Linked DNA regions of Homo sapiens: regions 1, 2 and 4 are each linked to region 3. Evidence: promoter capture Hi-C in human tissues and cell types (Jung and others, 2019). All regions are on one chromosome and are shown on one strand. The core of a region is centred on a gene start or on the middle of the fragment in contact, and the rest is flanking DNA. Distances in the headings are between cores, read along the strand shown. Region 1 overlaps LOC124909471 (a long non-coding RNA gene). Region 2 has its middle 22 kb from the start of RPL39L. Region 3 holds the start of MASP1 (MBL associated serine protease 1). Region 4 overlaps LOC124909471 (a long non-coding RNA gene).

Region 1 (6,555 bases), core at 2,718-5,217, 190 kb after region 3:
TCCAGCCTGGTGACAGAGCAAGACTCCATCTCAAAAAAAGAAAGAGAAATAATTTTATATGAGAAATAATCTTGTATGGCAAATTTAGACCTAAAATAAAATGTCTGGTTGTTTAAGAAATAGAGATGTTCAGGACAAACCAGAAAGTCCAAGCATGTCATGAATGGTATGTGTAAGTCACAATAAGTATTTCTTAAATAAAATTTTTAAAAAACCCAAAACTTTTATATGATCAAGTTGTTTATAATTAAAGGGAAATTATAATGCTCTTTCTAGAGATTTGGCTTGATGCAAAAAAAACCACTTATACACTAAGTTATTGATTAGAACAATGACATTTTCTTAAGAGGTTGATTCACTCTTAATAAATTATAAGAGATTTTAATTCTTTTTTTAACCCAAAGTTTAACTTTTGTTGCATCTTGCTGTTTCTCTCCCCTTTTAAAAGGTACATTTTCTTAAAGGTCTAAGGGAAATGTTTTCTTCCAACATAATATTCTGTGCACTGTGGAAGATATTTTCTTTTGCCTTTTGGTAACTTGTGTAATGGATTTTATGTTTTATCAAAATAATTAGTATGCCATTATTATTAACTTTGTTTTGCTTCCCAGGAAAAAACTGAAATTTAATTTTTTTAAAAAATTAAGTTTATTATATTCATGTATCTTCCTGTATGTGCTTTTAAAGTCCTTGTGACATTGAGTTACAGGACTTTGACTCCTGGATCTAAAACGGCCACCAAGTCCGGCTAAATCTTAAACACTGACAGCCCTGTAATAGATGGCACATAAAATTAACTGCATTACTGAGACCCAGGGCCAGAAATTAAATCTATTCAGCTCTTCAAGGCCCAGGGACTATTTCAGTAGAGGTGGGCATGTGAGATTGTAAGGGCCAACTTTAAAAGATAAAAATAAGTTCAGTTTCTCTATAAATTAATCATTAATGTCAAAGGCACACTGATGCAAGACCAGCATATGGGCCCCTGTGTCAGATTAACAAGGTTTTCTTGAGGCATTAACTGATTCCTTAATAATGGTTATAAAGGTTATAAAAGGCTTCTGGAAGTTATATCTTATGGTAAAGATTTAAATGTTATAGATTGTTTATACATTTTGAAAAACAAATTTAATTGGCTTCATACTGTTTTTATTAGGGCTTATTGTTTGGGAAATTAAATCTCCTCTCTAAAAGAATAAAGGTTTTGCCTGTTTTTGAAATCTTTGAGTTATTACTTTGGTTAAAAGAATGACTTATTTTACAATGACTTGTGATCCTATTTTGTGATATCAAGTGTTTTAAACCTTTGATATTTGACAAACTTTTCAAAATCAAATTATAAATTATGTCTTTTTCTGACTTAATTAATCCTCTAAGATATTAGTTTCCCTAAAGTCCAAAAATGACATAATTTTGACATTTAGTAGTACAAAAATTATATAGGAAGCATTATCAAATATAAAATGGTGTTTGGTTTTCTTTGTTAATTTGTATAAATACGTTGTTGATATGTATTCTAAAATTTTGGGACACTCCTGTAATTCTGATATGACTTTACCAGTAATAATGATAATTGTTAAAATTATTGTCTGCCACAGAGGTAACAAATTTCCTTGTCAATTTTGTCTTTGACTATGGGTTCCCTAAAACTTTTTGTCATCCTTGGACAATGGTTGTGTTGTTTTGGTCCTCTTTGGAAGGTGGTTTTATAATCATCTATAAAACTATAACAGGTGCTCTCGAATGCAGGTTTCTGATAACTTTGGAGACTGTGACATCAGAATAAAGGAAAAACTTTCAGGACTCATGCATAGAGTGCTAAAATGTTCATGAATATCAACCAGAACAGGAATTAACTGCATGGACTGAACTAATCTTTTTGACTTTTTGCTTAAAATGTTGCTGATCATTTGTTTTGTTTTTCAGAGTCTTGAAACTTTTCTTCTGAGCTATTGACAGTTTTGGCAATTTAGTATACTCTTATGAACAAAATTTGGAGCACATTTGTTTCTCTCTACCTGATTTCTCCAGAATTTGGAAACTATTTGTGAGTATTCTTAATTTATGGCAATCCAGTTATTTGCATAAGTGCAACAAGAATTTGTTTTCATTTGTAACAGGACACAATTGGAGAAATTTGTTATTTTACCAAGGCTTTGACTGGAATGGTGTGTTGTCCTTTAAGGAATCAAACTTGACTCATGGAACCAAAAAAGTCCTTGGGAAAACTGGCCTCATAGTTTACACAGTCCCTCTACAGGGTTTCTGACCTATGGTAAGTAAAGAATGTCATTTTCAGAAAGGCCCAGGAGCCCCAAATTTATCTTGGAACCTCAAGAGGAGGGGAAATTCACCCAACTCATAGGTATTTGATGGTACAAGTCCATGGTTGGGTTCAGCTTTAAAAGTCTTATCTGAGATTCCTTCTATAGTAAAAACTTCCATCAAAGCCAAATTTTAAAAACATATGTGAAAAATAATTATTCTTGCTGCACTTTATACAAATAATCTGACCAAATATAATAAAGCAAATCAGTCCTACCATGATTTGTCTTTAGTAAAAATGGAAAACTGGAGAGAGAAAAATTATGTTTCAAAAACTATTGTACACTTGTTGTTAGATTTGAGTCTTTCCTAATGTTTTTCAATTTTTATTATTTTCTACAGTTTGGGCTAAATTATAATTTTTCCTGGCTACAAGTTTTCAAAATAATATTTTTAATTTTTTTCTTCTTTCTTTTCCTTTTCCCCCCATTTTTGTCCTAATTTGAAATCACTGAAAACAAAGCTGTGTTTTCTTAAAACCCTGTGAACTGAAGCCAGACACCTTAAACTTCAGAAGAAAATAACAGCAACCTATTTACATACATAAGCCACTTTCATATCTGCCTACTAATGTATGGACTTCAGAGTAATGTGACCTATATCAATTTTCCAGGATCCTTCTTTTGTTTGTTGTTGTTTTTCTCCTTTCCTCCCCCTCCTTTCTCTTCATAGGACATGAGACTTCACAATCTGCTAAAAATGAGCTTTCAGGAGCTACCCATCTAGAAATAAACTGTCCTAGCCATGAGAGATCAGATGAAACCTGAGACCAGAAACTAATTTCCTTCTAAAATGCTTTCTCCAAAAGATTTTTTAAAAGAAAAGAGGGGAAATGTGACAGGAAAATCTTGGGGCCACGAAATTACTAAGCTAATGGAAAAAGTCAAGCTGGGAACTGCTCAGGGCAAATCTGCCTCCCTTTGTATTCAAAGTCATCCCTCTGCTCACTGAGATAAATGCATATCCGGTTACCTCCTTTGGGAAATCTTATCAGAAACTCAAAATAATGCAATTATTTGCCTGTTGCCTACCTGTGACTTGGAAGCCCCCTCCCTGCTTCGGGTTGTCCTCATCTTTCTGGAGGGAATCAATGTACTTCTTACATATATTGATTGATGTCTCATGTCTTCCTAAAATATGTAAGACCAAGCTGTGCCCTGACCACCTTGGGCACATGTTGTCAGGACTTCCTGAGGCTGTGTTACAGGTGCACATCTTCAACCTTGGCAAAATAAACTTTATAAATTAACTGAGACCTCTCTCAAATTTTGGGGTTTCACAGTCATAGAGGTAATAATTGATGGAGCTATAACTGCTTGAGGGGTTCTTCCTGCCCAATGCATAAAGAAAGACCATGGCATTGTGGTAGAGAAAGAGTTTAATAGGCACAAGGCCAGCCACACCACATGGGAGATGGAGTTCCTACTCAAATCATCTCATCAGAAGCTCATAGGTTAGGCGACTTTCAAAGGCAGTTTGAGGGAAAAGGTGGGGGTGGCCAGGTAACAGGTGCTTGCTGCTGATTGGCTGGGTAGAGATAAAATCATAGGGAGTCTAAGTTGTCCTTCTGAATTGCTTTGCTTCTGGGCACAGGAGGGGGTTGGAGCCATGGATTTCAGACATACAAAAAAACCTGGAAAGATATCTCAAAAGGCCAATCTATAATAGTGGTTTTATTTTCAGGAATAATTGGGGAAGTTACATATCTTATAACCTCCGGAATAATGGCTGGCCTTCATTTATGTCTGTGCCTTAGCAGGACTCAGGCCCCTCTCCTCCCCCAAGTATGGAGGCCTCCCATTAGCTTTACAAAAGCAGTTGAGTTTTGGGCAAGGCCTATTATCATTTACACTGTCGCCTAAATGTCTTCCAAAGTTAGCCCAGCAGCCCAGAAATAATTAAGGGAAAGGCAAGGGGTGGGGAGAGTTGGCTTAGCTTACTGTTATAATTTTTCTCACTGATATAATTTTTGCAAAGACAGTTTCAGAGCCAGTTCTCAAACCCAGGTCTGTCTGATTCAAGCTGTGTTCTAAACACCAATGTTCTAACCATTTTATTTCTTTCTGAGCCTCAATTTCTTTACTGTAAAATGAGGCAGTGCAACAGATCATAGGACTTCACAAGTCTTTTTCAGCTCTGGAAGAATATGAATCCAACAGTGCAGATTGGAGTTTAGGATGGAGCTTGTCTTCCTTGCCTTCTGCTCTTTCTGATTCTCTCTGGAGAGAAAGGAGCTCTGTCTTCAAGTTGGAAGGATTGTCTTATGAAGGAGTGAGCTGGATCAGTCTCTGAGCCCTGAAGCAACAGATGCTAAATGAAAATTATATTCAGTTCCACAACAACTCTCTAACATGCAAAACACTTAGTGTCCTATATGTATTGTGAGTCTAATAATTTTTAGGAGCAAATAAAGAGTTTAAAACTTGGGAAACTTACCACCAGGTGTAATCTGAAGACATGCCTACATCTAACTTAGAGGCTAACTCTGATGTGGAGTTAAGCTGAATTTTTGAGGCTGCCATGGCCAATGAACCAGAAAATATGTATATATCTTAGAGTGGGAAGGACTTGAGAGATCACATTGCCCATCACCTTCATTTTATATATGAGTGAACTGAGGCCAAGAGAGGGTCAAGAGTTGTGTGGTGACCCAGACATAGAATACTGCCCTGAGCTATTATAGCAACCCTGTGTAACAATTAGAAAATTTTAACTACAACAAGCTTAATGATCCATGGGTTTTCTTGAAGTGTATTTCACACAAAAGGAGGAATATCTGAAATCTGAACTGCAATACCACCAGCTTCCCCAAGAAGATTTAAGCAGTCTTTTCTGCCACACTGACTGGATACACCTCTGATATGGTTTGGATTTGTTTCCCTGCCCAAATTGCAATTGAATTATAATCTCCAATGTTGGAGAAGGGGTCTGTTGGGAGGTGATGGGATCATGGGGGTGGATTTCCCCCATGCTATTCTCATGATAGTGAGTGAGTTCTCATGACATTTGGTTTTCAGAAGAGTGTAGCACCTCCCCCTTGGCTGTCTTCCTCCTGTTCCATCCATGTAAGACATGCCTACTTCCCCTTCACCTTCTGCCATGATTGTAAGTTTCCTGAGGCCTCCCCAGCCATGGTTCTCGTATAGCCTCCAGACCCATGAGCCAATTAAACCTCTTTTTATTATAAATTACCCAGTCTCAAGTAGTTCTTTATAGCAACACAAGAACAGACTAATGCAATCTCCCATTTGAGTGCTGTTCATCTCAGACATTATTTCAGATGGCACTATAGTTCTTTGCAATCTCAGCCTATGATGCTGTTATTATCTATACTTTTAAGAATATATTTAGCAGTGTTAAACTTGCTGAAGTTGCTCAGCTCCATCCAATAAAAGGATTGACCAAGAGCAAATTAGCATTTCATTAACTATTTTAAATATAATACTAACTTATTGAGCAATGATGACAGGATGTCTCAGAAATGGTAATACATTGAATTGCCCTTCAAATTCAGATTCTCCCATGCTTATGAGAAAATTACAAAAGGGAGATGTGGGCTGAGAAAGCAAAGATATTTCATCTTCATCATAGAAGAGGCGTATCTTAAAAGCAATGAGAATGATTTGTTTGCATGGCAATTTTCAGAGTAGAGTTCCAGAAAAAAGTTGCAAAAGAGTCAGAATCACTCTCTCAAAGCCAGATTATGGGTAGACTCTTTTGAGATCCCATGCCAAGGACCTTGAGAGAAACTGATGGTGGAAGGGACAGAATCAGGCCACTCTGGGAGTTTACCTGACTTGCAAGCTGACTGAATGTGGTGGCTGTCAGTTCAAACTGCATGGTCTAGATGAATGTGAGAACTCAACTCATATGAGCTGGTAGAGCCAGAATACAAAGTTCCACCTGAGTTGTGGGGCATGAATCAGGAGCACCCAGGCAATGGTGATGTTGACTCAGGTACTTGCAACAACATGGTGACACAGTCCAGATGAACAGCTTGTTTGAGCAGGACCCCAGGACCAACTGGAGGGAAATAGGGTGGGCAGGAGAAAAAGGATCTAGTAACCCAAGAGGAGGAGAATGTCCAGACCCAGAGTGTGGAGGCCTAGTCACAGTGGCTAGTATATATAAACATTACAGACTCAGCAGGAAATTATGGTATCAAAGTGTGTTTATATTGACTGGGCAAGCATAGCTAGAAGCAAGTAAAGATTGTAGCTTGAGTGAGGG
Region 2 (6,788 bases), core at 1,073-3,572, 180 kb before region 3:
TGTTGTCCAGACTGGTCTCAAACTCCTAACCTCAAGTGATCCACCTGTCTTGGCCTCCCAGAGTGCTGGGATTACAGGCATGAGCCACTGCGCCTGGCCTGAAAAACTATCTTTAATCAGAAATTAAAATATAAATGGATTTAGAAAAAAATGGGAAGTAATGAACAGTGTGTTGATTGAACTCAGAAAGAAAATAAAAGAAAAAGAAAAATAATCTTAGGATTGAAACATAAATTTTAAGAGGGTACTTATATTGGTTTCCTAGGGCTATCTTAACAGATTACTATAAACTGAGAGCTTGAAACAATAGGAATTTATTTTCCCACAGTTCTGGAGGCCAGAGGTCTCAAATCAAGGGGCTGGCAGGGCTTGTTTCTTCCCGAGGCTCTGAGGGAAGGGTCTGCTCTATCTCTCCTTCATAGCTTCTGGGGGCTGCCAGCAATCCTTGTTGTTCTTTGGTTTATAGATGCGTCACTCTAATCTCCACCTTCCTTCCCACATTACCATCGTTTCTATGTGTCTTCTCTCCTTCTATTCTAAGGATACTTGGAATTGGAATTAGGGCTCAACCAGAAAACCTAGGATGATTTTATCTTGAGATACTTAATTACACCTGCAAAGACCCTTTTTCCAAATAAGATCATATTCCCAGGTTCTGAGTAGACATTTTTGGGGTGTGGGGGTGGGCGTGGTCATCATCACCTCGCTATAGCACCCAAAGGAGAATGTACTCAGATGGAAATTTAATATGGGCACTGAACAAAGGCAAACAAGCAAGAAAATGAAATGAAATAAAGAAGTGAAATGGGTCAGGAAGAAAGTGATTGACAGGGAAGACAGTCCAAAGCAACACTGGTATAACTGGAGTACATGAAGAAGAAATAGCAAACAATGTAACTATCATTTAAAACTATAATTGAACTGTTGAACTGGGTGACAGGGTGAGACCCTGTCCCTAAAAAAACAAAAACAGAACTGTAATAGAAGAAGAAAGCTTTCCAGGAGTAAATACAGGTTTAACTTTAAAAATGCCCAAACTATTCCCTATTTTTTATTCCCACCAGCAATGTATGAGAATTTCAGTTGCTTTGCATCCTTGACAGCACTTGCTATTGTCAACTGTATTCTTTTGCTTTTTTTTTTGTTTATTCATTCTTATAGGTCAATAGTGGTATTTTACTGTAGCTTTATTTTGTATATCCTAAAAATGATGTTAATTGCATATCACTATGAACCTCTTTTAATGTGCTTATTTGCCAACTACATATCATCTATGATGAAGCGTCTGTTCAAATTCTTTGCCTGTTTTATAAATTGTTGTTTCCTTATTATTGAACTTTGATAGTTCTTTTTATAATCTGGATATAAGGCTCTTATTTGATATATGTAGTATACAGAGATATCTAGAGAGAGCAAATATTCTGCTTCTGATGTTACTTTTCATTCTCTTAATGTCTTAAAGAGAAATGATTTTAAATTTAATAAAGTCCAACTTATCAAGTTTTTAATTTTATGAATTGTGTTTTTGTTGTCATATTTAAGACACCTCTGCCTCACCCAAACTTAAGAATATTTCTTTTATGCTGTCTTCTAGAAGCTTTATACCATTAGATTTTACATTTAGGTCTATGATCCCATTAGAGTTTATTTTTGTATATGGTACAAGATATGGATCAAGGTGGGTTTTTTTTTTAACATGTAGATGTGCATAATTTGTTGTAAAGACTATCCTTTGTCCACTGAATTGCCTTTGCACCTTTGTCAAAAGTTCATTGATCCTCTATGCATCGATCTATTTTTTAAATTTCCTGTCTTGTTTCTTCATTCTACTTGTCTATCTTACTTCACCAAGCCTACATTAGCTCAATTACTATAGCTTTACCATAAGTGTTAAAATCAGTTAGGGCCCAGTGTGGTGGCTCATGTCTGTAATTCTAGCATTTTGGGAGGCCAAGGCAGAAGGATCACTTGAGCCCAGGAGTTTGAGATCCACCTGGGCAACATAGGGAGACCTCATCTCTACAAAAAATTTTAAAAATTAAAAAAACTAAAATCAGTTAGTATGAACCCTCCAAATTTGTTGCTTTTTTCAAAATTATTTCGGGTATTCTACATTCTTTGCATTTCCACATAAATTTTAGAATCAACTTATTTCTACAGGAAAGCCTATTATGTTTCTGATTGGAATTGTGTTAAATCTATAGGTCAATTTGAAGAAAAATGACATTTTACCACTACTGAGTTCTCCAATCTATGAATACAGTATATCTCTCCATTTATTTAAGGCTTTGCTTTCTTTCAGCAGTGTTTTGCAGTTTTCAGCATACAATCCTTTGCATATTTTTGTTAGATTTATTCTTAAGTATTTTGTTTTTTGATGTATTGTAAATGGTACTATGGTAGTATTTTAAAATTTTTAATTTCCAATCATTTATTTTTATAATACTGAAATTCAATTGTGTTTTGAATATTAGCCATATATATTGTGACTTGCTAACCTCACCTGTTGGTTCTAGGATCTATTTTATAGAATATTTGGGGTTTTTATATCTAGACAATAATTTCATTAATGCATAGAAACAAATACTGGAAGAAAAGGTGAGGCAAATTCATTTAAAAAATGGGTATAGAGAAAGGATTTCTAATTATGACTCAGAATCTCGATATAGTAAAAACAATTTGATAAATTTTGTTGCATAAAAAACCTTTTGTGTGGGAAAATACCATAAACAAAGTAAAAATACAACGGAGAAATTTGAAGAAAAAATTTGCAACATACATCAGAAAGGGCTAATATCCCTAATATATAAAGAACTCTTAAAAATGGAGAGGAAAAAGTCCAAAAATATGACATGAAAATGGGCTTAAAACATGAACAGACCACACACACACAAACACGATATAAAAATGGCCCTTACACATATGAAAAGGTGTTCAACCTCACTCAAACAAATGAATGCAAATTAAGACTATACTGAGATACCGTTTCTCACCTACCAGATGGGGAAAATTAGATAGTGTGATGCCATTCTGATGAAAGGCTGTGAGAAGAGAAGACAGCTGTGAGGGGTTTTCAGCACTCGGCTCTCCAGTTCATCCTTCTACATGAGTTTCAGTGATGATCAAGGAAGATACGTGAGGAGAAGAGAGTGCCTGTGCTGTTTGGTGCAGACTTAGAAAGGATGTTGGGAACAAAGCACTGGGGTGTTCTGGAGATGTTATCTGAGTTCCAAAGAGTGGATTTAATACATTTTTTAAAAATTTTCTAATTCCACAGGTTATTGGGGAACAGGTGGTGTTTGGTTACATAAGTTAAGTTCTTTAGTGGTAATTTGTGAGATTTTCGGTTCACCCATCACCCAAGCAGTATACACTGCACCCAGTTTGTAGTCTTTTATTCCTCACTCCCTTCCCACCCTTTCCCCCTGAGTCCCAAAGTCCATTGTGTCATTCTTATGCCTTTGCATCCTCATACTTAGCTCCCACTTATGAGTGAGAACATACAATATTTGATTTTCCATTCCTGAGTTACTTCACTTAGAATAATAGTCTCCAATCTCATCCAGGTTTCTGCGAATGCCATTAATTAATTCCTTTTTATGGCTGAGTAGTATTCCATCATCCATCTATCATCTATCTATCTATCTATCTATCTATCTATCTATCTATCTATCTATCTATAAAAAACAGTTTCTTCATCCACTCATTGATTGATGGGCATTTGGGTTGGTTCCACATTTTTGCAATTACGAAATGTGCTGCTATAAACATGTGTGTGCAGGTATCTTTTTCGTATAATGACTTTTTTTCCTCTGGGTAGATACCCCGTAGTGGGATTGCTGGATCAAATGTAGACCTATACTGAACATACCCATTTACATCATCCTACAATTTCAAGTATATTTTCTCATATGATATGTGGCAAACAAAAGACATCTGTATCTTTTGATATGTGCTCTCTGTTAAGGTTGGTGCTGGTGCTTGAGAGTGACCTAAATTTTATGGGTCCCATCAAATGGAGGAAAAATTCTCTATAATTGACCTCAGATTTCATTAGGTGACAGATGGCCTATGCTCAGAACATAATCTATTAGAATCAGAAAACTACCTATTGTCTTGGATATTTATGGCAAATTATTAAAATGTTTTCAATCATCAATGCTAGCGTGTAGTCACAGCCCTTGGTGCAGCCTAAAGACAGATGAGCCCAAACCCCCACTCAGAAACAGACCATACCAAGGTAGAGAGGTTCAGCCAACCCACCCAGCTCAACTCAGCTCAGAGTCAGACCTCTGACACTCTAAAGTAGCATTTTATGAAAACCTTGTTTTATTGCCTCAGTTTATGAAGCTGTTTTCAATCTCATTCAAGCCTTGTAACTCAGTGAGGAAGTCGGCTGTCTGATATATCCAGGTGAAATACAATAATTAAGGCCCAGAGAGGTTCTCTACCAGTTGTCCAACATCATAAAACTGATGGGAAGAGCCATAACTTCAAGCTACCCGAATCCTAGTCCTTTGCTTTTTGTTTCTATTGTGGAAGAATTCTTCCCAGAAACAGGATCACTCCCACAAGCAGGGATTCCATTATTTCAAAATTGAGTCAGGAATCTTAAGATTATGGGAGTAAAGCCTTGTTCAATTAACTAGACTCAAGATACAGAAACCAAGATGGGTGTGGTGGCTCATGGCTGGAATTCCAGCACTTTGAGAGGCCAAGGTGGAAGGACTGCTTGAGGCTAGGAGTTGGAGACCAGCCTGGGCAACACAGTGAGGCCCTGTCTCTATAAAAAGTAAAAAATTAGCTGGGCATGGTGGTGCACACCTGTTATCCTAGCTACTCAGGAGGATGAGGTGGGAGAATCATTTGAGCCCAGAAGTTCAAGGCTGCAGTGAGCTAGGATCACATCACTGCACTCCAACCTGGGCGACAGAGCAAGACTGTCTCAAAAAAAAAAAAAAAAAGAAAAGAATAGAAACCAATACTCGATTTTATATATGGGCTCCTCCTTCCTCTTCCATCATAGCTTTCCCAGTATGATTCCCTTAATTTTCTTAACCCTAGTACAACCATCTCGTGATGCACAGACCAGATTTTTCCTCCACTGTTCCACCACTGGGACACGTTGTCTTAGGTCTATACAACATTGATCTAATCCCTGAAGATGAAGGGCCCACTTAAAAAAATTATCTATGTACTAAAAATGTATCTATGTCCGAGGCCTTCTTTGTACAGTCATCACTTGTTATTTGCCAGGGATTGGTTCTAGGACTTCTACAGATACTAAAACCACAGATGCTCAAGTCCTTTATATGAAATGGCCATACTTATTTGCATATAACCTATTCACTTCTTCTGTATATTTAAAATCATTTCTAGATTACTTATAAGACCTAATAAAATATAAATGGTATATAAATCATTGTTATACTGTATTTTTATGTGTATTATTTTTTATTACTGTATTATAATTTTTGGACATTTTTAATCTGTGGTGGGTTGAATTTGCAGATGCGGGACCATGAATATGGAGAATTGAGTGTACTCCATTTTTTTATAAGCATAAAATTACACTCATTCCTAGACCTTCACCTCCTATACACTTCTGTGCTCAGGGCAGCTACGTATTTATGAGGCAAAGCCTCCCATTCAATTTTGAGAATAGGGAATTCACTCCTGATATCAGAGGGAGAGATGAAGCTGACCTACATGACACCTTAGCACAAAGAAAAATGTATCCTTCCCTCTGGGCGGATGTAGCTTTGCACAATGGTGCGGCTTGGCAAGTGGAATTCTAGCAGAGTTGTAGTCCTGATTAACTCCCTTGGCCAGCCATCTTTGTCTAACAGCCAAACTGCATGATCATACAAGGTAGCCGTGGGACTGGGATCCATGAAGATTATTTCCTTAAGATTTTTTTTAGTAACTGACAAGGCAAGTAGACACAGTCACTTCACAGTTTGTAATTACTTATTTGCAAGATTTAATATCTGCTCCCAGTTTAATGAGTTCCATGAAAGTAGGGACTCTGTCTTTACTCACTCCATATGCCAGTGCCCACTATAGTGCCTGGCACATCATAAGCACTCATTACTTGTTCAATTCTCTTAATAGCTGTGGCTGCAATACTTTGGGAAGAGCAAAAAGATTATCTCATAACTCTTAGTTCATAACTCTCAGACATGACCGCTGTCCAGAAGTTTATGGCAAACACAAGAACCCACATGTAGAGAAGAGTGAAGAAGACAGGCAGAGACTGCTAGCTAGAAATGTTACAAATTCTAGACCATGGCCTACTACTGCTTCTGCATAATGTCCTATTTAAATAGAGTAGCAATATAAATGACAAAATCTGTGACTGGCCCTTTACTGGTCACTGATATTTGCACTTTATCAATGGCCTCCTGTTCCATCCAATACCATTCTTGTCTCTTTTTCAAATCCATTTTCCATAATACAGCCAGTGTGAAAACTGACCTGATTGAAGTATGGTTTCAGTTCAAAACCTTTCAATGGTTGCTGATTGCTTAGGAGAAAAAGGCACAAAGTTCTAATGATTTATAAAGCCCTCTGTGGTTTGGCCTTTACTTAGCTCTGCAAACTCACCTAGAGTCATTCCCTCTGCTTTCTACGCTCTAGCCAGCTCCTTTCTATGCTCCTTTCACTTCCCTAAGGACATAATGTGCTCATTGCTGCTCAAGGCCTTCAAACATGCTGTTTCCTCTGCCTAAAATACTTGTTCTCCCTATGACAATCTTCACTTACTTGACTCGTGCCTCCTATAGGTC
Region 3 (6,848 bases), core at 1,275-3,774:
GCCTGCATATATCTATGATTGCGGCATGAACGGCACTTGCTATCTTTTCCATACACTGTCCGTACACGCCCCTTGTTTCAACCCACTCCACACCAAGACTCCATTTTTGAATTGAAGAGTTGGAAGGGACTGCATGGATCCTTTACAGAGCACCCTAATTTGACAGACGATGAAAAGGATACCCCAAGAGATGTCACATCATGCTCAATACCATATGGTGAATTAACTTCAACAGAAGAAGGGAATAAAAAGAGCTCACAGAAGAAGCTGGGTCCATGCCCATATCATGCCCAGGCATCTGGCCAAAGCAATTAATCCTGTGAAAAATAATTGAAAAACCCATGGCTTTACGTAAAAAATTTAAAAATATTAATGCCAAAGTCCCTCCTCAGGAGGTTCTGGTTTAATTGCTCTGGGGTGAGGCCTGAGCACTGGCATGTTTCAAGGCAGCACAGATCATTCCGACGTACAGTCAGAATTATGAGCCGTCAGTTTAGAATAATACACTTGGCTGAAAGTCTAGTGGAATATAGTAGAAAAAATCCTGAACTTGGAGCCCGAAGACCCAAATTTGAATCTGGACCTTTTCATGATCATCAGTGTGGTTTGGGCAAGTTGCTTAACTGCTTTTATACCCACTACTTATCCATAAATCCTTACTTCATCCAGAATCTGAAACCCCCATGAGACAGTGCTCTTGAAAGTGCTCTGCAAACACTGAAATACTGTATCCATGTGAGACAAGACCTGCTGGAGACTTTTCTAGCAGAGCACCTTTCTCGTAGTTGCTTGGCTATTCAAAAATTGAATTCAATTCAACAAATAGGTATTGAATGGCTGGTAGGAAATAGACATTATGCTAGGTGCTGGCCATACAAAGATGAAGACATAGATCATGTAACTTAAGGAGTGCTGAGACTTGTAAGGGGAGGTGGACATTTAAACAAGGGGATACTACAAGGACAATAAGAGATGCAGCTTCAAGGGACAGAAACAGAACAAAGGACAAAGGAGGGGATGCTCACTCTGGAATATGGTGGTCAGGAGAGAGAAAGAGATATTTGTGCCAGCTTGAACAATCAGGTCTTCTAGGTGGAAAATAAAGAAGAAGGTTGCTCCAGGTTGAGGGATGAGCATATGCAAAGATACAGAATTGTTACTCAGCCAAGTAGTTTGATATGGGCTGGGGCACTGAATGGTAGGGTGGGATTCAGACCAGATCATTGACAGATAAATGAGATTATCATTCAATGTAGATTGACATAAATCACTTTTTTTTGGAGAAAGAAAAATGATGTTTAATGGCAGGTTTAAAATTACTATGGCTTTAAGAAGAACAGAATTATTGCACTCACTTTTTAAGGACCTGGTTATCTCTCTGAACCACAGGTAATCGGAGTTCAAAGAGTTAACATAGTCTGAAGCCTCTCATTGGTCTCAGGTCCAGAAAAGTTGCTAGGTTACTTTGCAGAAGAGAAACAAATAAAAACACTTTCCCAAGTGAAAAGAAAATTAATAGTAAAAGATGTGTTTAGGGACTTACACATCTGCAGAGCATTGTGTGTGTGTGTGTGTGTGTGTGTGTGTGTAACAGCATTAACACTTAACTAATAAAAATAACTAGGGTGGTTGGGTTTTCAGACTTGCAGGATAGAACTTGTATGAAAGGTCTGGTAAGGAGTGTCAAGTATAATGAGGAATAAGAAAGGTTAAAGAGTTTAAAACCAATTAGAATTTGAAGTTCTTGATTTCAGAACTCTAAAATCCTTTTTTTTTTTTTAAGTATGATATCTCTTTAAGAGCCATTTGGTGTACTTCATAGCCTGATTCATGCCACCAGCTGCCTCTGATTTCAATGAGAAATGCAGAAAATTTATAGGGAACTGTAAAATGGGGACAGATTTTTAGTTTTCTAAATTGAGGTTTAACTGGCAAACTTGTAAAGGTTGAAGAAACCACAGAGCCAAGCTATGGGAAGCTGGTTTCTTTTCTGGTCAGAAGGAATGAACACACAAACACATATCTAACTCACAAAGTGCTGGAAGAGAGAAAGCAATGCTCTTTCCAGAGGAGGAACACGGAAAAATCAGCCTTGTGGGTGAACAGGAGGAGAGTCACATTCGCCAGCAGGCAGCACCCTGTGCAGGCAGTGGGAGAAATCTGAGCTTCAGCAGCGTCCGGAGCAGGATTTGCACGAAGTCTCCCGTTTCAAGTTTTATGTCTCCTGGAGTCCTGGGGAAGGCACCCAGCCCACCCACAGCTCCCTTCTCAGAGCCCTAAGAATTGATGAGAAAGCCCCTCACTACCACATGCAGGACACGCAGGTGAGTCTGTCAGTGACAAGGTCAGACCTTCCCTGCTATTTGACACTGGTCCCCAAAAGGGAACCGTGCCCTCTCCTCCCCTGGCACGTACCTCATTTTCCTGCCTTGGGTGCTCCCGGCTGCCCGGCCTTGGTCCTCCCAGCTTGACTTGCCTGTGAGCTCGTGCCCGGTGTGGTGTCCGTGATGCCTTATCTTTGTTCTGAGGTCCCTGTGTGTCTCTGGAATTGGCTGGCATTCTCCATTCAGGTCACGCCTTCCCCTGCCTGCAACAGATCCCCTCTCCCCCTCTCTCCCTCTGGCTTTTCCTCTCTCCTCTCTCTCTCCTTTGACTTGCTCTTGCACTCCCAGGAACCTGACAACAAAATCTGTCTTCCTACCGAAAAGATCTGCTCCTTCCCTTCCCTCCTTTATCCTGTGTGGCTGACTTCAGCCCTTGAGAGAAAATAACTGAGGGGCTCAAGCAGGTATTTGTATCACTCTGTGTGTGTGTGTGTGTGTGTGTGTGTGTGTGTAGAGAGAGAGAGAGAGAGAGAGTGAAAGGGGACAAAGTCTAATTTCTCTTTAGTCTTTTTTGCCAGATGACTATAATTTTCTGCTTTTCTTCAGGACACCCATGAAAGAAAAGCAATTAAATAGAAACAACCAACTAAGAAGGCAATTCTAGCACCTACACTAGAAGAAAAAAAAAAGGTCTAAATCCCAGAGCGTCTGTCTGCAAATAACTACAGGTTTCCTTGTGAGCAGAGCCCCAAATAACTACAGGTTTTCTCGTGATCAGAGTCACACACAACGACAGGTTTTCCTGTGAACAGAGCCACGGGCCCGGAACTGGGGAAGCACCAAGTCCTGAAGTTGGCTGGTTGTTCCTCCCCATGAGCAATACCTGTGGCACTGTTTACTTGCTCGGAGTGTGTGCGGCTCTACTCCAGCCCAGAAAGGGCCCATCGCAGCAAGAAATCTCACCTCCCCAGGGGTGTAGAAAGACCTGGGCCTGTATATATGTCTATACCCATGGCTTCCGGAGAAATCAACACTAGATCTAAGATGAGCTGAATAATAAGAAAATTACCCCCTCCACAACAACAACAACCAACACTGAATAGGGAGAGGTGTATCTGGGTGTAAAAGTTAAGTTTGACTGTGCACCTTTTCTGTGTTAGACACAGTACTAGTCATTAACATCATCTCAAGTTACTTTTGCAAACTGGTGAAAGTGCTGCTGTTATACTCATTTTACAAGTGAGGACACTAAGGCTCAGAGAGAATATGCCACTTGCCAAGATCATCCAGTTATTTATGACTCCCCACTGCCACTAGCACTAGAAGCTAACAGCTATTGAGTGCTACGTGTCAGGCACTGCTCTAAGCACTTAATATATGAATTCTTTTCAGTCATCTTTATATGTTGTATACATGGCTGGCAATATTCTCATTTTTCAGAGGAAATTGCCCAGAGAGGTTAAGTAACTTTCCCAAGTTCACACAGCTAGAAAGTAATAGAGGCAGAATTTGAAGTGTTAGCCACTGTATTACACTGCTACTCATTAACATTTTATAATGCATATGGAATTTCAAATGCACACACACAGACGGCATTCATAGAGAAACTCAATCTGAGTCATTTTGAAAAGAAGATTAGACTCAGAGTTTAGCTGTAATCTTTCCTTTCTACCCAAGACAGCTGTGTACTTTGGGCACAATACTTAAGGTATCTGATTCTGTGTCTTCATTTGGAAAATGGGAGTTACTATGAGGCTTAAATAAGACTGTGCTTGTAGAAGTGTCCAGGGGAGTACCAGAGAGAGGGCTGCCAGCCACACTCACCAAAGCGGCAGACACATGCACTGTCTACCCTCAGATAACGTTCCTTTGGCACGTTCTGGGGAACAGTGGCTTGACTCTCACTGTACTTCTTACTCCATTTTCTCTCCAGTTTCTCTAATTTTCACACTTTTGAATGCCAGCCTTGCCAAGCTTGGCATTATCAAGAGGCTGTGGTTGATAAAGCAGGTACAAGTATATGAGATGGGAGGATATGTTTGAACTCAGGCACTGTTTTAGCAAAATGTGTTCTGTCTCAGTCAGCACAGGAAAAAAAGCTTTTAACATTCCCGTTAAGAAGACTCACAGGCTCCGCACACATTAAATAACTCTCACAAAACAACATTTTAATGATTTACGTGTAAATGAATCAGAAACACATGGACGACATTTCTCTTGGAATACACAAGGGTTTTAAAACTGAAGGAGAAAGAGCTTGGCAAAATGCACACTGTGCTGGGAAGAGGGCCCCTGCCCAGTAAAGACATTCCCTCAATTCATGCTGCCACGGAGTTTGCCCTCTCCTAATTTAGGGCATATACTGGGAACTGCAGTCATTTGTTCTGGGTACAGAGGGAAGAGCTTGGGCGAGAAAGCCATCAGCTTCTCCTTGGAAAGTGTCACAGAGCAATTAGGCCTCCTGGAATAATTTTCTAGCCATGTTTCTTCAAGGCTGCCAATGTTCAATGGAAAGCATTCGAGATGTGTTCTAAGCCAAAGTTCTGCCAATATATAGCAGATCTGATATGTGCGCTTCCCTGGGAGTTAGCCAAGGCTCAGAGGAAATCTGCATAAAAACAGGAACTACGTGGCCCAGGAATGATCTGCATGTGATTCAGGACAGTTTTCTACTTGGTTACACTACATATTGTCTGATGCTTTTGATGAATCTCCCTGAAGTGTCACTAAGAGATCATGGGTCATCAGGGGTGGGAGGAATGGAAGGGACATTAGGCTGGAAACAGAACTGGGCTCAGTGACTATAGGCCAGCTTGCATGTGACCTTGGGTAAGTCACTTACTTTCTCAGGGGTGGGGGTTGAGGGGTGGAGGGGTGGGGCATCAGTGTGTTCAATTATGAAATCAGGGGGTGGGACTCAGTTGAGATCATAGATATCAACATGTGGATATGAAGACTATGAAATGATGTCGTTGGGAGGGGGTTAGGTAGTTTGCTAGACCTAAAAGATTGTCAAGGAGTCCAAAATAGCTCTAATAATCTTGACATTGGCTTTTTCTGTGCTCATAATATTACTGATACTAAGAATTTAATCACAGATATTCAGAAAAAGTAATATTTAAAAAGGTTCAACTAGTTTTTTGAGTTTGGCAAAAGCGATTAAAAAATGCATACAAGGAACTGACATCATTTAGAATCATGAAAGCGTAGAATGACTGAGGTGGGCTCAGCACCCGCGCACTATAGTCCTGTAGTCCGGGAAAGGGATCAGAGAGCTGCCTACTAAGGGTAAATGCGGCAATATTCCTACCACTGGAAGAGGTTTTGGTTTACATGTTCTACCAAAGTATTTATTTTATGCAACTTTTGAGCTAGAGCTTCTGGAATTCAATGAATGGGTTAGAAAACGTAAAGAATTTGGGCAATGACTTTTTGTTGGTAAGGGCTGAAATCCAGGCTTCCTACAGAATATTTGAGAAACTGATAAATAGCTCCAAAGATGGCAGCTTAGAATGAAAATCTGGGTTCTTCAGCACATTGACTGACAGCATGCCGAAAGTCCTGGCTTCTGAGTCTATCAACAGAATAATGGGGAAAATATTTTTAAAAAATGACAATCTTTGAGCTTCATCCCAGGAGATTCAAACCCAATGAATCTGTGGGTAAGTCTCCTGAATCTGTAATTTGAAAATCTCCCCTGGCATGATTTTGCCACTTTTGGTACAAATAACATAATGATACATTTTATAATTGATGGCACCTTTGATTTGATAAGATGTCATTTGTATATGCCAGATACTTTTATATATATTATTGCATATAGTATTCACATCTTTTTTTACAAGTAAAGACATTGAGGTTCAGAGAAACTAAGCCTGCCCGTGCCTGTAAGTGAATGATGTATGTCTAGAGCCCAGGGCCCCCTGATCTCAAGTGCAAAGCTCTTCCCTGTCGTCTGCAAATTTCTCGTGCTTCTTGTGGACTCTGAACATTCATGTGCCATGCTGTCATGTGATTACAAGATTTTACAGAAGACAAAAAATAGCTTCTATTTAAAAAAATAAATGATTAGGCTCTGTTATGGGCTGAATTACATTCCCCTCAAATGCATATGTTGAATTTCTAACCCTCAGTACTTCAGAAGGTGACTGTGTTTGGAAAAAGGGCTTTTAATGAGGTGTTTAAGTTAAAATGGGATCCTTAGAATGGGCCCTAATCCAATACAATTGGTGTCTTTATAAGAGGACATTAAGACACAGACACACACAGAGGGAAGACCATGTGAAGACGTAGGGTGAAGATGGCCACCTGCAGGCCAAGGATAAAAGCCACAAAAGAAACCAAATCTGCCAACACCTCCATCTCGGACAGTTTTTGTTTATAGTCCCGAAAGACACAAGCCTGAAATCTATAATCCCAAATATGGAAATTCCAAAAAGTCAAAACCTCTAAAGTCTAAATCCCTAACATCTAAAATCCCCAAAATCAAAATCACAAGATAGTTGCATCATATTAGGTGGAACT
Region 4 (6,554 bases), core at 1,716-4,215, 200 kb after region 3:
ATTAGGGCAAGCTTAAATCCCACTGCTAATACCACAACTGGTGCTGCCTTGAAAGAACCACCTCCTGGCTGGAGGCCAAACAACTCAGGCCATTATAGCAACTCATGACAGAATGATCCTGCTCTCAGGAAAGAGAAAACAATAGTTAATTCCACCACCTGCAGCATTCTAGTTAACTAGAGGTCCTGAGTTTGTCCACATGCCAACTTCACTGCTAGCATAACCAGCATTTGAGAAAGCCAGCACACTAAACCTCTCTACAACCAAAGAATCTCATCACTCCTCTGATGCCTCCTCCAGAGCAGGTGCTGGTATCCACAGCTGGGAGAGCTGAAAAATGATCACATCACTGAACTCTTTGTGGACATTCATCAGCAGCAGTCTGGAGCCCCATAGCCCCACTGGGTGACTAGTCTCAGAAAAGCAATAACAATCACTGCAGTCCAACTCTCAGGGAGCCCCATCTCTAGAGGAAGGGGGAGAGCACCACATCAAGGGATCACCCCATGGGACAAAAGAATCTGAACAGCAGGCCTTGAATTCCACATCCTTCCACTGGTGGGTAGTTTCTCACAGAAGAGATACAATTGCAGTGCTGGGCACAGTAGGGAAAGTCTGCACCTCTACACCAACAGGCAGGCTGCCTCTGTGATTGTGAAGGGCCTTGGAGAAGGGGTCCTTCTTCCCTACTGCCACTCCACCACAAATGCAGCTGGGGCTTCCCCCACAAGAATGCAGTGTGGAGGCACCTGTAGGCAGCATTTCTGGAACAATCCAGGCTGAGTGGAGCCCCACAGGAGGAGCACCCCCCCAGATTCAGGCCTATACAAGCGGCAGTGTCACAATTCCTTCCTACTTGGAACTCAACATTCCTATAGATTAAAAGAGGTGCCTGTCTCATCTGAAGAGCTGCAACACTAGGACAGGAGTGAGGCTTTGAGGTGAAGAGCTTTCCTGCTGACCTGGCAAGAGAGCTGAGGTAGCTCCCACTCTTCACCAAGGTAAAACCTCAGCTCGTCTAATTGAGAGTGCCCCCAGTTACTCATCAAGGCTTGGACCTTGGCCCACCACTGGGTATTATATCTTCCCACCTGCCTTAGCCACACCTGGAGCCTAACCAGGCTTACCTCTCCTATTGACCTGAAGCCTGAATCATCAAATCAGTAAATAAAACACTGGGAAAAAATAAATAAACAAATAAATTGTACACCACTAGGGAACGAGATAAGTTTCAAGAGATCCCTGCCATTTCAACTTGAGAGGAGACGTCGAACTCACCCACACACCAAGAATATAACTACTACAACCAACATTGGGGAAAACCAGCACACAAAGACTCTCTATAACTAAGGAACTCATACAGAGTCTTTACCCCTACAAGCACCAAGAATCAAATTAGACTATAATAAACATTGAAGTCTGATTCTTAAGAGGAAAACACAAAAAAGAAAAGAAAATTAAATCTACAAAACACAGTCCAATCAAAAAAGAATTCAAGAACAATTTGAAGAAATTGTCTACACAAATGAGAAGGAACCAGAAAAGTAGTTCTGGTAACATGAAAAACATAGTTCTATAACACCCCCAAAAGATCACACTAGCTCTCTAGCAATGGATTTAAACCAGGAAGAAACCTCTGAATTGCCATATAAAGAATTCAGAAGGTTAAATATTAAGCTACTCAACGAGATATCAGAGAAAGGTGAAAACCAACTTAAAGAAATTAAAAAAAATACAGGATACGGATGCATAATATTGAAGAAAAATAGATATCATTAGAAAAACAATCACAACTTCTGGAAATGAAAGAAACATTTAGGGAAATACAAAATGCAATGGAAAATTTCAACAATAGGCTAGAACAAGTCGAAGAAAGAGCTTCAGAGCTCAGAGACAAGCCTTTCAAATTAACCCAATTAGACAGAGACAAACAAAAAAGAATAATAAAAAAGTAAACAAAGCTCTCAAGAAAGCTGGGATTATGTTAAATGACCAAACGTAAGAATAATTGGTGTTCCTGAGGAAGAAGAGACATCTAAAACTTTAGAAAACTTATTTGAGGGAATAATTGAGGACGACTTCCCTGGCCTTTGTCTTTTTCAGGCAAACAAATGCTGAGAGAATTCTCCACTACCAAGTTTTTCAGACAAATGATGCTGAGATAATAGTGGGGGACTTCAATACACCACTGACAGCACTAGTCAGGTCATCAAGACAGAAAGTCAACAAAACTACTATTAACACTTTTATGCACACAAACTAAAAAAATGGAGAGATGGATAAATTCTTGGAAACATACAACCCTCCTATATTAAATCAGGAAGAAATAGAAACTCTGAACAGACCAATAACAATTAGCAAGATTGAGACAGTAATAAAAAAAATCGCCAACAACAAAAAAAATCCAGGACCAGATGGATTCACAGCTGCATTCTAGTAGATATTCAAAGAATTGGTACCAATCCTACTGAAACAATTCCAAAAGATAGAGAAAGACAGAATCCTTCGAAATCATTCTGTGAAGCCAGTATCACATTAATACCAAAATCAGAAAAGGATATAACAAAAAGAGAAAACTATAGACCAACATCCCTGATGAACATAGATGCAAAAATCAAATAAATACTAGCTAACCAAATCCAACAGCATATCAAAAAGATAATCCACCATGAACAAATGGCTTTCATACAAAGGATGCACGGATGGTTTAACATACGCAAGTTGATGCATGTGATACACCACATAAGCAGAATTAAAAACAAAAACCACGTGATCATCTCAACAGACACAGAAAAAGCATTTGACAAAATCCAGCATCCCTATATGATTAAAACCCTCAGCAAAATTGGCATAGAAGGGACATAGCTTAAGGTAATAAAAGACATATATTACAAGCCCACAGCCAACATTATACTGAATGGGAAAAAGTTGAAAGCATTCCACCTGAGAAGTAGAACAAGACAAGGATGCCCACTTTCATTACTTCTATTCAACGTAGTCCTGGAAATTCTAGCCAGAGCAATCAGGCAGAAGAAAGAAATGAAGGGCATCCAAGTCGATAAAGAGGAAGTCAAACTGTCGCTGTTCATTGATGATATGATTGTATACCTAGAAAACCCTAAAGACTCATCTGAAAAGCTTCTAGATCTGATAAATGAATTCAATAATGTTTCAGAACACAAAGTCAATGTACAAAAATCAGTAGCACTGCTACATACCAACAATGACCAGGCTGAGAATCAAATCAAGAACTTAACCCCCTTTACAATTGCTGCAAAAAACAAAACAAACAAACAAACAAAAACTTAGGAATATACCTAACCAAGGAGATAAAAGACATCTACAAGGAAAACTACAAAAAGCTGCTGAAAGCAATCATAGATGACGTGAACAAATGGAAACACATCCCATGCTCATGGATTGATAGAATCAATATTGTGAAAATGACCATACTGCCAAAATAAATCTACAAATTCAATGCAATTCCCATCAAAATACTATCATCATTCTTTGCAGAACTAAAAAAAAAATTCTAAAATTTATATGGAACCCCCCCCACCAAAAAAAAGCCTGCATAGCCAAAGCAAGACTAAGCAAAAAGAGCAAATTGGGAGGCATCACATTACCTGACTTCAAACTATACTACGAGACTATCCTTACCTAAACAGCATGGTTCTGGTATAAAAATAAGCATGCAGACCAATGGAACAGAATAGAGAACCCAGAAATAAAGCCAAAGATTTATACCCAACTTGATCATTGACAAAGCATTCAAAAACATGAAGTAGGGAAAGAACACCTACTCATTATCAGGGAAATACAAATTAAAACCACAATTCAGTATACCACCTAACTCCTGCAAGAATGGCCATAATTTAAAAAATCAAAAAATAATAATTGTTGGCATCGATGTGGTGAAAAGAGAACACCTTTACACTGCTGGTGGGAATGTAAACTAGTACAACCACTGTAGAAAACAGTATGGAGATTCCTTAAAGGACTGAAAGTACTTCTACCATTCGACTCAGCAATCTCACTGCTGGTTATCTACCCAAAGGAAAAGAAGTCATTATATGAAAAAGACACTTGCACACACAAGTTTATAGCAGCACAATTCACAAGTGATAAAATATGGAACCAACCTAAATGCCCATCAACTAACAAGTGAATAAAGAAAATGTCGTATATGTACATCATGCAATACTATAAAAGGAACAAAATAATGGCTTTTGTAGCAACTTCGATGAAGTTAGAGACCACTTTCTAAGCTAAGTAACTCAGGAGTGGAAAACCAAATATCGTATGTTCCCACTTATAAGTGGGAGTTAAGCTATGAGGATGCAAAGGCATAAGAATGGTATAATGGACTTTGAGGACTCGAGGGGAAGGATGGGAGGGTAGAGATAAAATATTACACATTGGGTACAGTGTGTACTGCTCGGGTCATGGGTGCACCGAAAACTCAGAAATCACCAGTAAAGAACTTATTCATGTAACCAAAAACCACCTGTTTCCCCAAAACCTACTGAAATAAAAAAATAAAATAATATCTAAGTTGCAGATTTGGGAGAAAATATTTGCATAATATATATCTAACAAAGGACTTTTATCCAGAATAAAGAATTGTTACAACTGTAAAATGAGAAGACAAGGAACATAATTTGTTTAAATGGGCAAATGATTTCAACTGGCACTTTACCAAAGAAGACACATAGATGGCATACAAAAAAAAGCTGAACATTATGAGTTATTAGTGAAATGCAAATTGAACCGAAATGGGATACAACTACACTTTGACTAGAATGGCCAAAATTTAAAAATATGATGAAACAAAATGATAATTCCAAATGTTAACATGATGTGGAGAAATTAGAACTCTCAAATACTACTGGTTTGAATATATAAAGTGGTACAACGATTTTGGAAAACAGTTTGGCACTTTCTTAAAAAGTTGAACATTCTTTTACCATACAATCCAGCTATTCCATTCCTAAGTAAATATTTTTCCAAGAGCTATGAAAACATACATTCATAGAAAAGGTGCACTTAAATAATTATGGCAGCACTATTTTTATCAGCCAAAAATTGAAGTCCACTGAATGTCTATCAATGGCTTAATGTAAACAAATTGTGGTAAATCCATAAAATGGAACAGTATTTGGCAACAAGATTATTGATTGATGGATAAAGTTGAAAGTAATTATACTAAGTCCAAGAAGCCAGACAAAAAGTACAATTATATGATTCCATTGTATAAAATTCTAGACAATGAAAACTAATCTACAGTGACAGAAAGCAATTCAATGTTTTCCTGGTGAAAGAGAGATAAATATTTTACCAAATGGCATGAGAAGACTTTCTGGGTTAATGGAAATCTTTTTCATCTTAATTGTGGCATGGTTACAGGGTCTATACATATTACAACATTTGTCCAATTTTGTACAGTAAATATATACAGTTTATCATACATATTTATCCCTTAATAAAATTGTAAATGCCTTTATAAAACAAACAAAAGAAGGAAGGAAGGGAGACAAATTTTTGGCAGGGGGCTAGACAGAATTCTCAGTGAGAAAGGCATATAAGAAAGATATTGAGGAATTGGTGGAAAGAGAATTCAAGAAAAAGCAATGATCTATTAAAAAGGGCTTTGAATCAATAGCATTGTGTCAACCTTTTTTTAAATCCTGGGTTCATTCGGATTAGCTTTATGGAAGAGGTAATCTGAGAAGAGGCTTAAGCTGTGGTTTTAGAGTATGAGCTGCAATATGACACATGATGCTGTGCAGAGTACAAGAAAAAAGAATATTAAATCACAGGCTTAAAAGTGTCACCTTGTCACATTCTCTACCTCCAAGCAAGGTTTATTTCAGAGGCATTTGGAGAAGACAGTGTTCCACAGCCCATTTCTCTAAAATGTGTTCATAATATCAGGAACTATCCAGCCATCTATCCAGGAGCTTTGGATTGATCTTTGATTCCTATCTCTTCTCACCCCTGTGGCAGCCATGGAAGAGACCCTTCCAGATCTTCCCTCAAGAGAAGTCTGCGGCAAGGAGTGCAGTTAGCTGACAGCCTACACCTGTAGCACCTTTTCATCCATCACAACATTTGAGCTGAGGTCATTCTCTTTCCTGTAGCACCTACTCAATGAATGAGCCTCACCATTTTTGTCCAATGAAGGATTCCTTGCCTGACATTCCTTGGATCAGAGCTCTCCAATAAGTTGGTCAAATCTCAGAGCTTCACCAAAATCTGAGGCTCTTCCTATCTAATCAACCTTCCTTTCTCCTCTCCTTTCACAGATATCAGACCTACCTCATGGTCTAAAGACTTTTCCTACCCCTTTCTGTTCCCTCTGTTTTGTCTTTCATAGACATTACTGCTAATGAATCTGTTGCACTTCTAACTCTGTCTTATCCATCCACTTTCTAGAGGACTTGAACTGACATGCACATTCTTCATTCCTTCATTCCAAGTTCTATTGAGTCTATCCTCAAACTCTTTCTTGAAGTTGTTTCCTCTTCCCCAATTTCACTGCCACTGCCTTAGGT

The links. The method cuts DNA at HindIII sites, captures the fragments that hold promoters and counts their contacts. A contact is called where the count stands out against the background at its distance.
Region 1: a fragment that was not itself captured here is called in contact with the fragment with the promoter of MASP1 in region 3 in 1 of the 25 tissues and cell types used here (thymus).
Region 2: a contact is called between a fragment that was not itself captured here and the fragment with the promoter of MASP1 in region 3, in 1 of the 25 tissues and cell types used here (liver).
Region 4: a contact is called between a fragment that was not itself captured here and the fragment with the promoter of MASP1 in region 3, in 2 of the 25 tissues and cell types used here (heart right ventricle and mesendoderm cells).

The regions. Positions count from the first base shown.
Region 1 is chr3:187,473,799-187,480,353 of GRCh38, forward strand. LOC124909471 (a long non-coding RNA gene) reads right to left here. Exons shown (of 2, transcript XR_007096210.1): 2 at 3,686-4,620. Among named protein-coding and RNA genes, the nearest start is that of LINC02041, 30 kb to the left of the region's middle. The HindIII fragment of the contact is 8,570 bases long and covers 1-6,555 here.
Region 2 is chr3:187,113,873-187,120,660 of GRCh38, forward strand. No RefSeq gene overlaps it. Among named protein-coding and RNA genes, the nearest start is that of RPL39L, 22 kb to the right of the region's middle. The HindIII fragment of the contact is 4,041 bases long and covers 303-4,343 here.
Region 3 is chr3:187,289,213-187,296,060 of GRCh38, forward strand. MASP1 (MBL associated serine protease 1) reads right to left here and starts at 2,525. Exons shown (of 11, transcript NM_139125.4): 1 at 2,416-2,525. The coding sequence starts at 2,420. LOC101929130 (a long non-coding RNA gene) reads left to right here and starts at 2,060. Exons shown (of 2, transcript NR_135551.1): 1 at 2,060-2,324. RefSeq lists an enhancer at 6,302-6,848. The HindIII fragment of the contact is 8,732 bases long and covers 1-6,848 here.
Region 4 is chr3:187,491,495-187,498,048 of GRCh38, forward strand. The region is part of intron 1 of LOC124909471 (a long non-coding RNA gene); the gene reads right to left. Among named protein-coding and RNA genes, the nearest start is that of LINC02041, 48 kb to the left of the region's middle. The HindIII fragment of the contact is 7,793 bases long and covers 1-6,554 here.